Regions from separate parts of the Homo sapiens genome. Here regions 2 and 3 are each linked to region 1. Evidence: promoter capture Hi-C in 16 types of primary human blood cells and fetal thymus (Javierre and others, 2016). All regions are on one chromosome and are shown on one strand. Each heading gives the region's core, a stretch centred on a gene start or on the middle of the fragment in contact. The rest is flanking DNA. Distances are from core to core; before and after follow the strand shown. Region 1 holds the start of SCGB1A1 (secretoglobin family 1A member 1). Region 2 has its middle 6.9 kb from the start of SCGB2A1. Region 3 holds the start of GANAB (glucosidase II alpha subunit).

Region 1 (2,768 bases), core at 171-2,670:
TTCTTGAAGTGCCACGCAATGCCTCTCCATGTCTATCTACCCCAGTTCCCGACTCCTAGCACCACATCTGGCACATCATAGGTGGTCAGCATTTATTGGATGAATGAATGGATCAATATTTGATTGAGTCTTGAAGTACGAATAGAATTTGGCGAAGTGGACAAGGCAGGAAATGTGTATTCAGGCATGAGGCTTAGCTTGTGCATAGGTAGAAAGGCATGAAAAAACATGGAACATTCTCGAATCCACAAATAGTAAGAGAGGGCTAAGTCGTTGTGTGGGGGAGAGGAGAAATGAAGTTCAAATGGTAGGCAAAGGTCAGTGGGCAAGGGCCTTGTAAATTGCACTTGAATTTTATTCTTTAGGCAAAAGGAAGAGTTTAAGGGTTTCAAGAAGAAGGACACGACCAGTGGGTTTTAGGAAGATCATTCTGATGGCCTTTCAGAGGATGGCTGAGGAGAGCTAGCAGGGAGGCAGGGAGGTCGAGTCAGGGGATTTTGACCAGGCCAGGTTAGGTGCTATGAGGCCCGGGCTTTGGAGAAGAACCAGGAAATGGCAACTGGAGGCAAGAAAGGGGAGAAGGCCAAAGCCTGGGAACCATCAACACTTAAGAACAGTAAAGAATAAACATCTAAAGAGAACAAGAAGGAATGGCCAGAAGAAGGAAAACAGGAAAGAACTGAGGCGTGGGAGCGCAAGAGAGAGAATGGTTCGAGAAGGAAGCAGTCACAGGTGTCAAGGCCATTGGGAGGTCAAGTGAGATAAGGACTGAAGGTCCCACCAATTGGGCCATCAGGAGCACAGGACTTGAGAGCACTTCTGGGTGGGAACAGACCCAGCCTGGGGCAGGGCTCAGGTTTCTGATGGGAATTCTGGAAGGGTCCCTTTTATTCAACATGCTTCAATCCAGGGGCCCCCGAAGTCTGACCACAGCAATGCTCCAAACCATGTGTCTTTCCTGGCTTAAGGTTCAGTCGCCCTCCTCAGAGGGGAGCCTATGAAAGAGCCCAGTGGAGTGTCAGGGTCCTGAGTCCTAGTCCTAGTCCTGTCCCTGCCACTTGTGAGGGAACTTGGGCCTCAGTTTCTCCAGGTGGGCTCCACAATTGCTTCTCTTGATCTGGACTGCCCCAGTGCCCAGGTTCAGTGAGTGACACAGGCAGCTGGGTTTCCACATCCTCTGACTTGGGTTCCCTTCACTGCCTCCAGGCAGGGCTCGGCCCTCCACCCCCAAGTGGCCCATTGTGTGAGCTCAGTTTCAGTGGGGACAGAAACTGGGTTGAGAAAAGGGAATATTTACCTATCCCACCAAGCCAATGCCAAGTAAATAGTGCAGTATCTTATGTAGAGCCCTTGCCCTGCCCTTCCCCATCTGGGTGCTGCTGCCTAGAGCATATAAAAGGCACCTTGCTGGGCATGTCTCATACTAGCCCACCAGACTCAGAGACGGAACCAGAGACGGGCCAGAGCATCCCCCTCCTCCACCATGAAACTCGCTGTCACCCTCACCCTGGTCACACTGGCTCTCTGCTGCAGCTCCGGTGAGTGCTCAGAGACCCTTCCCTCCCTCCTGGACTTAGGAACTCTCAGGACCCCCCAGTTCTGCTCAGAAGAAGGAGTGAGCTGCCCATTCCTGCTCTGGAGCTGCTGGGAGGACCTGGGCATGCTGAGTCTCAGAAAACTGGGTCTGGTGAGCAAGCTCATCTTGGAAACTTGGAGAGAGCCCCAGGCTGTAAGGAAGCCTAAAAAGGGTCCCATCTTCTATATCCAACAACCCTCAGAATCCCAGGGAATGGAATAGCCTGGAGGGAGGAGTGGAGAATACCCCATAAAGATGAGTACATCCAGCATAGGAATAATGAGGCCCTCATCCCAGATCTGGACAGACTCCAAGATGCTGAGACCTTGGTGCAGCCTCCAAGTCTGGGGTCTCCACTCCATGCTGGCAGCTGAAGTCACTGGAAGGGGAGCTGCAGGGACTCGTGACCCCAAAAGAAACCCAACCCAAGACAAGGTCTCTCATTCTGGGCACAGAGGAATATTCCAGAAAGAGAGCTTCCCTTTGGGGAACTGCCAACCCAGAGTGAAGTTTTCTAAACATTTCCGTCCTCTGCAAAAGGGATTAGGAGTCTCTGAGTAGTTGCTGCTGTCACTAAAAGGAAAAGAACTGTGGGGGGAAGAGGGGCAGAAAGAGAGACGGAGAGAGGGGGAGAAAGGAAGGAAAGAAGGATCACAGCTCTCTCCAAGATCCCCCGTCTTTGGGGAACTGGGTTATCTAACTCTGTTTTTCACTCTGCGTCAGCCTCTTCCATTCTCATCTGAAAATGCTGTTGTTATTTTTTAATAAACAAACTCCAATTAATTCACTTGGAAAGCTTCACAACACCCATGGAGATAAGTTTTATGACCCTGGGGAGTTAGAAAACCCAAACCAAGAAGCAGTAGGAACAACTATTTTGCAGAGAGGTTTATTTGTTTTTCAGAGAAAATGACATCATTTTGGACTGAAATGTGTATTAATTAGAAGATCTCAGTGCTGTCTGCGTACAGAGGTGGGTGGCTGAGCAAGATAGGACTGCAACATGTTAAGGGGTGGGTCAGAGATGCATTTGTCTATTTGTGTGCACATGCATACAATATTTAACACTTACTTCACACAATGTGCCAATCACTGTCACCCTTTCACATAATATCTCTTTTCATTCTTTTTTTTTTTTTTTTTTGAGACAGAGTCTCGCTCTGTTGCCAGGCTGGAGTGCAGTGGCGCGATC
Region 2 (2,754 bases), core at 244-2,743, 200 kb before region 1:
CTACCTCCCTAAGCCACTTTCTCTGGGGACCTCACACTCTTGGAGTCATGCTCAGAAGCCCTGATTTTACCCCAGTCCCATCCATGCTGAGCCCTGCTGGTTATGCCAGGCTCCTCTGGGTTGTCTTTGGGCCTCCCCAACGTGTGCAGGGCCCAGACCAGAGCCAGCCAGGGAGGGGAGGCCTGCAAAGCAAGGTGGATCCTGTCTGGATTTTAAATTTTGAGTTTTATTTGTCGTTCATGGATGTTGGCATTAATTTTGAACTTTTAAAATATTGCATGAAAATATTACTTACCCTGATGACTGAGTTTGCTAGCATAGCGACACCTTAAATTGTGCAACTTTTCTCAGTCCAGTCTCTGCCAGTGGGTCCATCCTCCCCTGCCCCACAGTGAGCTGCAAAGGCAATGAGGGTTGAGGGGAGTGAGTGTGCTATGCAGGGACCCAGCACAGAAGGGGATGTTTAAATGGAACCGGGGTCTCCATCGTGTCCTGTCCCCAGCACTCCTGTCACCAGGGTTAGGTTATTGCCTGTCCCTTTTCCTTCTGGGGCTATCCCCTCACCCAGGAAGACCCTGTCTATGTGTCTGGACAACTCAGCTTCACCAGGGCCGACTCTTCCATCAGGCAAGGCAAGGGCAGGGATCCAGGCCCACAATATACATAGGGGTGTATGAAAATGTTATAATTTAAAGAATAATTTCCTGAAGTGATTGTAATATTAATGAACATATACCAATGAATCTAGCCTGAATTCTATACTTCGTCTTACCAATACAGTTGTAAAGTATGTTTAAAATGTTCTTATGAAGAAGTGGCCTATGAAGGCAATGTAATACCTGTGACCTACAAAAGCCATGCAACAGATGATAAAATATTGCTGTTTTATTTGGACTCAGAGACCTATCCTCAAACCCTCAATCTTCTGGCCAAAGTTTAGGTCAAATAAGGATGTGATGTGTCAACTTGTAATTCAATATGTAAATGACAAAAATCTAGTTTCTCAAGAAGAGCTGGACTATATTCTTTTTTAGAGACAGAGACCTATTCTCCTTTTTCCCTGAAAGACAATTAGGAAAAAACTCAATCAAAAACCCCAAAATAAAGAGTCAGAAAAGCCAGTTCTCATGCCTAAAGACTCCAGCACATGGGATCCCCTAGACCATCTTCCCCTGCTGAATGCTCTTAACCCTTCCCCTCAGACAGCCCTTCTGTCCCAGATCCTGCCCCAGATCCCTCCCTTGCTCACATTATTCCTCCTCCTTACAATCCAGATTCCTGGGAATCATCATCCCATGAGCCTATTTCTTCTCAGCCCATGTAGCCTATTTCTTCTCAGCCCATGTATCCTTCCCTAAAAAGACTCCAGCATTAGAAAAAACAATATAAAAAGGATATTCAAAATTTCCCATTTCCCTCCACACCTAAGGAGTCAGCCCCAACTCTCTTCCCCTTAAAAGAGGTGCCACAAGGAGATGGAACTACTGACTTTGTAAATACTCCCTTAACCAGTTTGGAGGTCTAAAGTTTGAAGAAGAAACTTAAGCCATTGTTATATGACACTTACAGAGTGACAGATCAGGTTGATCAGTTTTTGAGACCTCGGTTACACACTTGGGTCGAGTTAATGTCCATCCTAGACATCCTCTTTTCAGGGAAGGAAAAAAACATGATCCCTAGGGCTGCTATGGCAATTTAAAAATGTAAATATCCTCCCGGTCAAACATTCCTAATGCAGATCGAAAGTTTTCCACCCAAGACCCCCGGGGTAGGGAAAAGAAAGAGATCAGACTGTTACTGTGTCTATGCAGAAAGGGAAGACATAAGAAACTCCATTTTGACCTGTACCCTGAACAATTGCTTTGCCCTGAGATGCTGTTAATCTGTAATTTTCCCCAACCTTGAGCTCACAAAAACATGTGTTGTATGGAATCAAGGTTTAAGGGATCTAGGGCTGTGCAGGATGTGCCTTGTTAACAAAATGTTTACAGGCAGTATGGTTGGTAGAAGTCATCACCATTCTCCAGTCTTGATAAACCAGGGGCACAATGCACTGTGGAAAGCCACAGGGACCTCTGTCCTGGAAAGCCAGGTATATCCAAGGTTTCTCCCCATGTGATAGTCTGAAATATGGCCTCGTGGGATGGCAAAGACCTGACTGTCCCCCAGCCCGACACCCGGGAAGGGTCTGTTCTGAGGAGGATTAGTAAAAGAGGAAAGCCTTTGCAGTTGAGATAGAGAAAGGCCACTGTCTCCTGCCCCTGGAACTGAATGTCTCAGTATAAAACCCGATTGTACATTTGTTCAATTCTGAGATAGGAGAAAAAGGGAAAAACTGCCCTGTGGCGGGAGGTGAGACATGTTGGCAGCAATGCTGCTTTATTATTCTTTACTCCACTGAGATGTTCGGGTGGAGAGAAACATAAATCTGGCCTACGTGCACATCCAGGCATAGTACCTTCCCTTGAACTTACTTGTAACACAGATTCCTTGCTCATATGTTTTCTTGCTGACCTTCTCCCCACTATCACCCTGCTCTCCTACCACATTCCTCTTGCTGAGATAGTGAAAATGGTAATCAATAAATAATGAGGGAACTCAGAGAACGGTGCTGGTGCAGGTCCTCCGTATGCTGAGTGCCGGTCCCCTGGGCCCACTGTTCTTTCTCTATACTTTGTCTCCGTGTCTTATTTCTTTTCTCAGTCTCTCATCCCACCTACGAGAAATACCCACAGGTGTGGAGGGGTTGGCCCC
Region 3 (2,860 bases), core at 127-2,626, 230 kb after region 1:
AGAAGTACAGTGAGTTGAGGCCGGGCGCGGTGGCTCACGCCTGTAATCCCAGCACTTTGGGAGGCCGAGGCGGGTGGATCACGAGGTCAAGAGATCGAGATCATCCTCACCAACATAGTGAAACCCCGTCTCTACTAAAAATACAAAAAAATAGCCAGGCGTGGTGGCGGGTGCCTGTAGTCCCAGCTACTCGGGAGGCTGAGGCAGGAGAATGGCGTGAACCCAGGAGGCGGAGCTTGCAGTGAGCCGAGATCTCGCCACTGCACTCCAGCCTGGGCAACAGAGCGAGACTCTGTCTCTCAAAAAAAAAAAAAAAAGACGTACAGTGAGTTAAATACCCTCTGGGGCCCTATTTGCACAGTCTGTAAAATTGGTTCGGAAAGATGCCAATGGAGATAGGATTCCTAAAGCATCTTTCAGATATGACCTGTTGGAGGGCCCTAAGGAATTCACGGCGGCCTTGACCACCCCAAGAGAGGTGTTCATAGGCCAAAGTCAGGAATAAGCTGCAGGGCAAGTTGCACGCATTTATTGTTTCAGATCACAGGCTCCGAGGGAACTGAGTTTATGATCCACGCTTTCTTCATCGCTTTGGAGAGTACACGCCTACCCCACCCCAGTATATCCGTTAGGTCCTAGTAAACATTTGTGGCACTGGTGATATGTTTCGAATCTTTTTTTTTCCCCAGTAATATAAACCCGAGAGCGTGGACCAAGCCATTCGATTACATGTTGTGTTTGAGCAACACCATCCACGCCGTGAGCTTACTGGACCCTGGGCCGTGCCCAGCGACCGTGGACACTGAACTAAGCCAGAGCTGGTGCTCACGTGAAGACAAGGGCAGAGGAGGATTCGGAGCTCTACAGGGTAGAGCCAGAAGGGTAGTACAGGCTTAACTGCTGGCCCGGTGCTTCCAGCTCAGCCGAGGGGCCGCGGGGCCGCAGGCTGCATTCCCCGAGGCCAGGCCGCATCTTTTCCCCCGCCCCGACGACCCCGCGCACTGCAGGAAGGGGGCGGCGACGTTGACCGCCGCAAGCAGCCAAAGGAGGGCGGCGGCTGAGAGCGGCCAAGACCAAGAAAGACGCACAGCTGTGGCTTTACTAAACCGCCGGGCGGGAGCCCGGAGCCCCACAGGCAAGGCCCCCAGCGTCGCTCGGATCTACCACGGGGAGACCGGAGGCGTCTGAGGCCGCCTCCAGAGGAACAAAGGTTCCTCACGAGGCCGGGGGTGGCAGAGTGTCAAGAGACACACAGGAAGGAGTGGAATGGGACTTGGGGGATCTGGGGGCGTCCCGGGCGCGCCCCCAGATTCCGGGCTCCTCACCGCCTCCTACGCGCCGCCACTGCCGCTACCGCCGCCATCTTGTGCAGAGTTTGCTCCTTGACCCCAAACCTCCCGCCCCATCGCGCGCGCTCAGCCACGTATCCTAGTTCCCGCCCCTTCCGGCCTTATGATTGGTTCGACCTGAGCGCCGCCGGGCAGCTGTCTCATTGGTAGAGTGCGCACTCCAAATTATCGCAGGGGGCGGGGCTTCAGGCCAGGGGCGGGAACGTCCAGAGCCAGGCGCTGTCAGACTTTGCACGCTCTCAGCATGACAGAAGCACTGGACTGGTTTTCTCAAGTTGGCAAATTTTATTTAGAAAAAAAAAAGTGGGAGAGAAAAAAGTGACAGCGCTCTTTAGACCAAGGACTTAGAAGAGAAACCTCCACCCTTCCGGAGCACGTTAGTCCCTTCCCTCTCTCACTGCTCAACCTCCCTGGGCTTCCAGAGCAAGAAAAGGCTACGTCCCCTGTCGAAGGAGAGTGGACGGTGAAGGTGCCTGGAAACGGCCAGAGAAAAGACCTAGGCGGTCGATGTTGCGGTGGAGGACACTGTGCAGCACAGCCAGATGGGGTCCACCCTCACCTCCACCCTCCCTGGAGAAGTCCCGAATGAAGCGACCCCGCTCTGATTGGAAGATGAACTTCTGAGGCAAGGGCCCATGCTCCCGGAGAAAACCCCAGACACTGAGCAGCAGCAGACGCACCTCGAAAGGTGCCAGTTGGCTAAATACTTCATGCATATTACCCAGGGCCGGAGGCAGGAGGCTTCCCTCAGCCATGACAGCCACTAAGGTGCAGGATGCCTCCAGGTGCCAGGGGGAGTGGGTCGTGTCAGGGTGGCGAGAGGCTTCCCAATGGCCCAAGAGGGCGGCCAGCAGCCCCCGAAGCAGCACGGAACAGTAGCACAGGGCTGGGGGTGCAGCTGCTACCAGCTTTAACAGCTCAAAGAGCAGGGGCTGTTCGCGGAAGCGCCGGCCAATGCGGAGATCCCGCTCCACGGTGGCCCGGGCGTGTTCCTCGGGGGGCCAGGCCAGCTCTGCACCAGCTGCATCGGGACACACACTCTCCACCAAGGTCACTGCCACTGCTTTGGCTGCCTCTGGACTCAAGATGGGTGCCCCCCAGCATTCCCCACATTCAGTGCCCCCTGGGGCACTGCAGCAGTGAACCAGGAGGCTGAGGAGGCTCTGGGTGTTATAGATCACTTCCTGCTGATTTCGTGACTGGACAAACTTGGGTGGCTTTAAGCCACGGCCGATGACTCCAGCATGGAAAACTGACCAAATCCCTCCAGGACCTGGCACAGCTGCAGTGTGCCTCCGGTTAGTGTCCAACAGGGAGGCAGAAGCCAAAGAAGCTGAAACAACTGAGAGAGTCTCATTGTCCCCATCTACTTGCCCACCAAACAGTTCTGTGTTGCCTCGATGTAAGGCTCCTTCAACCAGCAGCTGCAGGACAGCCTTGAGCCCAGCTGGGGATGTCTGAGACAGGCGGGTGAGAAGCTGACAGGCTGAGGCCACACCTGGGGGTCCATG

What was found. The method cuts DNA at HindIII sites, captures the fragments that hold promoters and counts their contacts. A CHiCAGO score of 5 or more calls a contact.
Region 2: a contact is called between a fragment that was not itself captured here and the fragment with the promoter of SCGB1A1 in region 1, in 1 of 17 cell types (M0 macrophages). The highest score is 5.0, in M0 macrophages.
Region 3: the fragment with the promoter of GANAB here is called in contact with the fragment with the promoter of SCGB1A1 in region 1 in 3 of 17 cell types (monocytes, erythroblasts and M2 macrophages); the score reaches 5.8 in monocytes.

Annotation. Positions count from the first base shown.
Region 1 is chr11:62,417,613-62,420,380 of GRCh38, forward strand. It overlaps SCGB1A1 (secretoglobin family 1A member 1), which reads left to right and starts at 1,421. Exons shown (of 3, transcript NM_003357.5): 1 at 1,421-1,538. The coding sequence starts at 1,484. The region is part of intron 1 of LOC102723765 (a long non-coding RNA gene); the gene reads right to left. RefSeq lists a silencer at 445-739. The HindIII fragment of the contact is 29,364 bases long and covers 1-2,370 here.
Region 2 is chr11:62,214,181-62,216,934 of GRCh38, forward strand. No RefSeq gene overlaps it. Among named protein-coding and RNA genes, the nearest start is that of SCGB2A1, 6.9 kb to the left of the region's middle. The HindIII fragment of the contact is 3,405 bases long and covers 1-2,754 here.
Region 3 is chr11:62,645,237-62,648,096 of GRCh38, forward strand. It overlaps GANAB (glucosidase II alpha subunit), which reads right to left and starts at 1,377. Exons shown (of 24, transcript NM_198334.3): 1 at 1,326-1,377. The coding sequence starts at 1,363. It overlaps INTS5 (integrator complex subunit 5), which reads right to left. Exons shown (of 2, transcript NM_030628.2): 2 at 1,612-2,860. The coding sequence ends at 1,784. RefSeq lists enhancers at 1-383, 699-858 and a silencer at 1,469-1,548. The HindIII fragment of the contact is 15,573 bases long and covers 1-2,860 here.